2 separate regions of the Homo sapiens genome follow, and region 1 is linked to region 2. Evidence: promoter capture Hi-C in human tissues and cell types (Jung and others, 2019). All regions are on one chromosome and are shown on one strand. Each heading gives the region's core, a stretch centred on a gene start or on the middle of the fragment in contact. The rest is flanking DNA. Distances are from core to core; before and after follow the strand shown.

Evidence for each region. The method cuts DNA at HindIII sites, captures the fragments that hold promoters and counts their contacts. A contact is called where the count stands out against the background at its distance.
Region 1: a fragment that was not itself captured here is called in contact with the fragment with the promoter of PPA1 in region 2 in 3 of the 25 tissues and cell types used here (IMR-90 fibroblasts, hippocampus and lymphoblastoid cells).

The regions. Positions count from the first base shown.
Region 1 is chr10:70,331,447-70,335,078 of GRCh38, forward strand. The region is part of intron 3 of LRRC20 (leucine rich repeat containing 20); the gene reads right to left. Among named protein-coding and RNA genes, the nearest start is that of NPFFR1, 49 kb to the left of the region's middle. RefSeq lists enhancers at 307-601, 3,554-3,632. The HindIII fragment of the contact is 5,717 bases long and covers 1-3,632 here.
Region 2 is chr10:70,231,538-70,235,343 of GRCh38, forward strand. PPA1 (inorganic pyrophosphatase 1) reads right to left here and starts at 1,892. Exons shown (of 11, transcript NM_021129.4): 1 at 1,727-1,892. The coding sequence starts at 1,790. RefSeq lists a silencer at 1,534-2,103. The HindIII fragment of the contact is 11,213 bases long and covers 1,374-3,806 here.

The DNA of each region.
Region 1 (3,632 bases), core at 737-3,236, 100 kb after region 2:
AGGAAGAATAAAAGTGTGGCCAAAGCCCCAGCCACGGGATCGGCCAGTGTGTTGGGCTTCCAGCCCAACACAGCCACAGCCACGTCTGGCTTTGCTTCTCACCTCTGGAGTCACAGCACCCAGGCCATCTGCCCAAGGTCTTACTGCCCCCTCTTCTGGACAGAGAGGGCTGAGATCTTCTGGTCCCAGAAGACTGCATTAGGGGTTCCAAAGATTCTTCCTGCACCAGGCCAGGGTTCAGAGTGGAACAACCAGGGCTCCCAGGATGGACCGGGGCTCTGGAAAAAGATCCCACTCCATTCCACTCCCAACGTTGTACCCAGCCTGAGAGCAGCCCCCATCATGACATTTCCTTATTGATTAAACCTACTGAACTGTGGTTTCCGGTGTCTGTTAAATGGACCTCTTCTTCCCCAAGTTCCTCTTATTACTTCCTGTACCATCCTTATCTTGGACAATTGCCAAGGCTGACTCAGAGGCCTTAGATTAACCCCAGCTGAGAGAGAAGCTTGCCAATTCCATTAGGGGACAGACAAGGCTGGCCTGCAGTAATTATACAACCCATGCTCGAAGGAATGTGCCAACTCCAAAAATACCTGCTCACCAAACCTCAATCAGCACCTCGGCTCTGAACCTGCGGCAATGAGCAATCACAGTCCCTGACTGCACGGACTCCCCAGCAGGGCAGAGTCAGACGGTCAGGTGGGCAGTGTCCTTCCACCAGCCCATGCTCAGTGCTGAGGAGGCTTCACACAGAGACAGCTGCTGCCCACAGGGGTCAGAGGGCATTTCCAGATGCCACACTCACTCCTTGGGGGTGGACAAGGGGAAGGGCAGAAAAAGCACTTTTAACAAGGTCTGGAACAGACTAAAATGAAGTACTAAACATTCTGCCTCCATAAAAAGACTAAGGCAGGCCAGGTGCAGTGGCTCACGCCTGTAATCCCAACACTTTGGGAGGCTGAGACAGGCGGATCACTTGAGTCTAGGAGTTCAAGACTAGCCTGGGCAACATGGCAAGACCCTGTCTCTACAAACAATACAAAAAATTAGCTAGGTTTGATGGTGTGTGCCGTAGTCCCAGCTAGTCGGGAGGCTAAGGTGGAAAGATCACTTGAGCCCAGGAGGCAGAGGTTGCAGTGAGCCGAGATTGCACCACTGCACTCCAGCCTGGGTGACAGAGGGAGACCTGTTTCAAAAGAAAAGACTAAGGTAGCTCTTTTTTCTTGCTGTGTGAACTTGGGCAAGTTACTTGTTACTTTATGCTCTGTTTGCTTACAACAGTACCTACCCTTGGTGGCATATTATAAATGCTACTATTATGAAGTATATTTATATTTACATAGGCATGGAATATCTCCAGTACTGCTAATGGTGGTTGTCTCTGGACACGGACTTGGATGTCTGGGGACAGGAGTAGAAGAGCAGACTTATTTTTCCCCACTATCCTTTCAATCCTCAAAATATCACATTGTGTGCATCTACTGCCTAATCAAAAATAAATAAGTAAATAGGATACGTTTTTCAAATGAAGACTTAGAGCTCTGCAGGTGTGGCAGAGACATAAACAGCAACAAGAGAGGTGCTTGGGAATGGGTAAGAAGAGCAGAGGCAGGTATGGAAACATCTGAATCGCAGAGCTGGGAGCAAAGGAGAGCTGCACTTAGAGCCTGGAAGAGGGAAGTGAAGGGAAACTGCAGTCTTCTGCCTTACAGGGTTGCAAGAAGTGTTAGCTTGGGCTCTGGAGGACAGAGGTACCAGAGGCTCAGAGCCACACGGTCCTGGTGTTCCAGGTGTACCCTCCTCCCCCAACACACTGTACAGAATTCTGGGCTGGGGGGTGCAAGGGGGCTGTTGAGGTCTGCTGGTTTCTAGGGGTGGTTAAGACCCAGGATGGAAGCGATGCTCTCCTGCTGGTGCAGCAGCAATCCATCTCCAGGCTGCCCCAACTCCCCTTCATAGGGAATTTAACTTATTTTTTGTAGCTCTGTAGGTTGGTTGGTCTCTGCTGGGCGGTTCTTCTGCTATATGTAGTAGAGCCTCAAAATGCCCTCTGACCTCAGTGATCCCATCTCTGGGATTCTACTAAGGATGCTGAAGCCCATGATGCTTGGGTTCCTTAACACTGCTAGGAAGGGCTGACCCACTGCCCAGAAGCAGCCATGCAGGGGTCACAAACAGTTTGGCCTTTGCTTCACTGAGGTCATCCAGGTAGCTCCAGGGGTGGGGCACCCTTGAGGACTGATGGCAAAAACTGATGCAGAAGGCCACAACCTTGTCACTGCCTTGGTACCAGGTAGGAACTCTTGATCATCTGCAATTGGGGTCTGCCCCTTGTGCATAACTCAGGGGAGATGGACTCTCCCAGACCCCACTATTCCAGTGGTGGGTTGCACTGAAAGAACCAGAAAATGTGTTTCTGGCCGGGTGCTGTGGCTCAGGCCTATTATCCCAACACTTTGGGAGGACATGATGGGTGGATCATCTGAGGCCAGGAGTTTGAGACCAGCCTGACCAACATGGTTAAATCCTGTCTCTACTAAAAATACAAAAATTAGCCAGGCGTGGTGGCAAGTGCCTGTAATCCCAGCTACTCGGGAGGCTGAGGCAGAAGAATCGCTTGAACTGGGGAGGTGGAGGTGGCAGTGAGCAGAGATAGTGCCACTGCACTCCACCCTGGGTGACACAGCGAGACTCCATCTTAAAAAAAAAAAAAAGAAAATGTGTTTCTGACAGAGTAGATCTGCCTGATCCCATGCTACAACCAAACCTAAGCATCCCATTGACCGCACAAAGCTTCCATGTCTGCCCTGCTGTCCCTGCACATTCCTGAGCCCCCTCTTCTTTTCTCTTTTGTCCACTAAGTAACATCAGCTATTAGAAAAAGTAAACCCAGTGGGCTGAAGTGAAGTAGGAAGCTGGGGAGGAACAGCACACTGTGACCCCAACACCCCAACAGCCTTTCTGAGGACGGTTCCCTTGCTCCCCGGGTTTGGAAATGTAATGTGCCCAGGGGACACTCCCCGTCTCCTCCCTTCCCAGAACTCCAGAAAATAGTAACTCCTGTGGGGCACTGACATACACTGTTCACTGGCACACCCCCTTCCCACCCCCAAATACCGCCTAAGACTCCTGACCACACGTGGACAGCAGCAGCTTTGATGGCATGGCCTGAGGAACAGAGGGACCCACCCCGTCCTCACCACCCTGGCCTGTTAGGATGAACTCAGTTGCTTTAACCTAGCTTCTCCATGCCCTCTGCCCACACCCACCCCCAGGCACCAGGCATGTAGGGCCCTTGGAGCAGGAAGACCACTCCCCAAAGTGTGCAGAGAGGAGCCAAGGCTGAGGCGTGGCCCCCTCTGGCACCAAGGCGGTTGCCAGAGGTAAAGATAAAGCCTGGTGCCTCCCTCCTGACTGTCCTAATTGCTGAGATAATGAGGAAAATTGCCCCATTTTCTCTGGCAGGCACCAGGAGCTGCTGCCTGGAGAGCCCTGTGGTGAGGGTAAGGGGCAGCCCAGTGAGCAGCCAGGAGCCCTCTGCAGACAGGCTCCCCCCAGGTGTCATGCACCCTGTGGGCTCACCCTGGGCACATCTCCGAGGTCACCCCTGGGAGGGCCTGGCTCTGAGG
Region 2 (3,806 bases), core at 642-3,141:
GCCTGGGCAACAGAGCGAGACTTTGTTTCAAAAAACAAACAATAAAACATAAAAGTCCCTTTAGGGCCAATTGTGACTTTGCAGTCTGTCCAGCCCTTTATCAGTTTTAAAGAAATTGACAAATGTAATATTATAAAGCTTAAAAAAGTTTATTTCTATTAAGGAAGGATAAAGCACTTAAAATTGGATAACTATGTAGTGGGTTCTAATTATTAGTATTTCTTAAGTTCCAGAGAGTTCCACTTGATAAAAACAGTTACTTCAGCTAGTGCCAAATTCTAGGAGTAGCTTTGGTCTCCCATAACGGCCACCAAATATTAATTGCAAATAAATAACCTAAGTAAAAGCAGTGTGTTTGTTCTGCATATATAGCTTGAAGATCCACCCCTCACCTTCAAACCAGACAGTCACCTCTGTAAGCCTTTCCTACAGAGAAATTCTGGAGCCAACACTATTTCCAGAAAAACAGTCCCATGAATTATTAGTCAAAAGTTACTGGACTGTCCTTGCTGCTTAATTGCAAAATTAAATAAAATGGAGAGTGGGGGGTAGTTCTCACCCTTCCTGGATTTTACCTGATAGTTAACCTTTGGCTAGATGTGTAAGCTTTACAGTTCGCTTTCCTTTTCCTCCCGCACCAGGCTACTTTTTGTTCCTTCAATGCCTATTCATTCGTCTCCTCTACTCCCCGCTTCCCCTTCCTTCATACACCAACTCAGAGTTCGAGGCACCTGCCCATTTCCTTCCAAATAAAACTGTAAAGAGGTTACAATAGAAGCGCCTGTGGTGACACATTTACGAACGCCTCCGTTATCGCCCATAATCTACTCCTAGTAGCTGGGGGTGGGGGGAGTAAGAGGATAAAGAAAAACCCCAAGTAGCTTTCCTCCACCTACAAGGCCAAAAAAACGTGGTGCCCTAAGGAGCGTGGAGGGCGCCAGCATGCAGCCTCCCGGTTTCCCCGTGCAGCCCTAGGTGCAGGACCCGGGGTAGGTACCCCCTAGACGCCGAATCCTGCAAAGGTAAAAACTTGGCACTTTCTCAGTCTTGTTTCCAGACTGACGTCATCTGTTTGATTTGAGGGAAACAGCTTTCTGTTTCATAAGGAGCATTCCCAGCATCGGCGCTGAGGGAAAACAGGCGGCGCAGAGGCAGGAGCACGACCGGGCCGCGGAGGACCGGTCCAGCGCCTTCACAGACGGCTCCCGATCCGGGCCTCAGTTTTCCCGTCTGTAAAACGAGGGGGTGGACTTGGCTCCGCTCAGCGCCGATAATCTGAGCTACGGCGGCGGAATTAAGGTCTTTAGGAAGTCACTGCCCCCCCCGGCCCGGAGTCGCCTTTTCTCCAAACTGAGCAATCCTCTTACGGGAATTATGTTACTTCCAAGCACCTTTCTAGGGTGGGTCGGTGATTTCCTTTTCCCAACAGACCCTGTCAGAGCCAGACACCTGCAAAACTAGCTGGGCCCAGGTTCGGGTACCCCGAGGCGTGACAAAGGGACCATCTCCGTTCAGCGGGGAGGGATGGCCGGAGGCGACCCTCGCCGCCCCGACCGGCGGCGGCAAGTATGCAATGTGAGGCCGGCCAGGCCCCACAACGCGCCCGAGGAGACGGGCCCGCGTCGGAGACCTGGGGCCGAGCGCGGGCCGCACCCTCCCGGGGAGGCAAGGCCCGGGAATGAATGGGCGGACGGGCGCGGAGGGGCCACGGGCCGCAGACACTCACTGAGGAAGACTCGGTACTCCAGGGAGAAGGGCGCGGCGCGCTCCTCGGTGCTGAAGCCGCTCATAGTGCCGGAGTCCTGCCGCCGCCGCTGCCACAGAGCCACCAGCCCGCACGCGGCGCCGACTGACAAGGAGAGAGCCCCACGCCTGCGCACTGCGAGCACTGGACCGGCGGGCGGGGCGGGGAGCGCCTTTAACGCGGCTCTGCTAGTGTTCCCACCCCCGCCGGGCCAACCCCGTGCGCAGGCGCACTCCGCCAGGCCCGGGTGTCCGCACTCCCCAGCCCCGCCCCTCGGGCCCAGCCTCCGCGATGGCAGCTAGGGCTCAGAGGCTGGGCCACGTGGCTGCCGCCGGCGCTGGTTCTGTTCCTTCGGCTTTGGGCTCTGACCCGGGAGGGCAAATGCGCAGGCTCTAAGCTTGGACTAGCTAGGAGTTGACCGCCGACCACGCACACAGGGAACTCACCTTTGATTCTCACACACTCCTCCCCGCAGTCCTATTCCTTATCTCAAAAGGCGTTGATAAGTCACCTGCTTCCCCAGACAGGCTCTGCTTGCGGTCTTAAAGGTGAGCATTTTTCTGATCCGTCGTAACAAAGTTGAGCCATATTACTGACACCCCTAGTGGCTACTAGTAAGGTACTCGCTTCTCCACTTTCTATAATCTCTCTCACTCCGTTGCTTATCTGGGAAGTGAAGATAATAATATAACTATTTCATGAGTTACTGGGATGATTACCCGAGTTAATACACGTCAAATGCCTGAAGCAGAGCCTGTATCTTTGTAAACAATCTGGAAGTTGTTACTGTCACCCTCCCCAGTGGGGGAGGATTTACGCCCCCGCGCCCCCCGCCCCCTCCATCCCCCCTGCCACCCTACTTAACCCACCTGGGTCTCCAGGGGCTTCAGATGGAAGCACTGGGAAGGTCCAGGCGTGAGCTAGAGTCCCGTGAAGGAGTGTTCTCAGGGACAGGCTCTTCTGATCTTGATTTCCTGTTTATATTCCATCATATCAGGCCAGACCCCAAAAACTAAAGTCTGATTGAGGCAGTGGGAAAATATTTGCATCACTTACCTCCCCAGGAATACATGTAAAAGAAAAAAAGTATATCCACAATCCTAAATATAAATTAGCAAATTATTATTCACATTTCAAAGAATGCCTGGTTTTATTTATTTATTTATTTTAATTTCATGGCCAGGATTTCTTTAAATAACTTTTTCTAGAACATTAAAGATAATGTGCCTTAATGACATTTTGAATTAAACCCTTTTTTCCAAACAATGTCTATTGTAAAAAATGAATATTAAATGAAAACCTAGTAAGATCTCCAGTTAGTTATGGTGTCGCTCCCTTTGTCTCCATCCAACTCCCAAACCTCACTGACACCCATTAATTTTCAGAAGGCTGTGATTCACTGATTTTTTGAACATTTCACCACACTGTTTTACTGCTGTTAAAACAGAAGGGCAGGAAAAAAAATTAGCGAAGCAATAGTTTAGTCAATAATTAGGGTCAAGGCCAGGCGCGGTGACTTACGCCTTCAATCCCAGCACTTTGGGAGGCCGAGGTGGGCGGATTACCCGACGTCAGGAGTTGGAAACCAGCCTGGCCAACACAGTGAAACCCTGTCCCTAGTAAAAATACAAAAATTAGCTGGGCGTGGTTGCACGCGCCTGTAATCCCAGCTACTCGGGAGACTGAGGCAGGAGAACACTTGATCCCGAGAGGCGGAGGTTGCGGTGAGTTGAGATCACGCCAGTGCATTCCAGCCTGGGTGACAGAGCGAGACTCTGTTTCAGAAAAAAAAGTAGGATCAAGTTCAAAGAATATTTTAAGGGGATGCTCTTTTGATTGAACTGCTCTATCACTTTTCTGCCTTTGAGCAGATGGAACCAATTTTCTTGGAAAAACCCAGACTCTCATCTGTGACTGACTTAAGAAGACAGCAGTGATGCAATAATAATGTTCTACATACACTTTCCCTTTGCCTCCTGCCAGCTCAGAGCAAGATAATAAAGTCTCACTGACCTCCAGACTTGCACACTGGCTCTTGTTTCATCGAATGTATTCAGAGAGC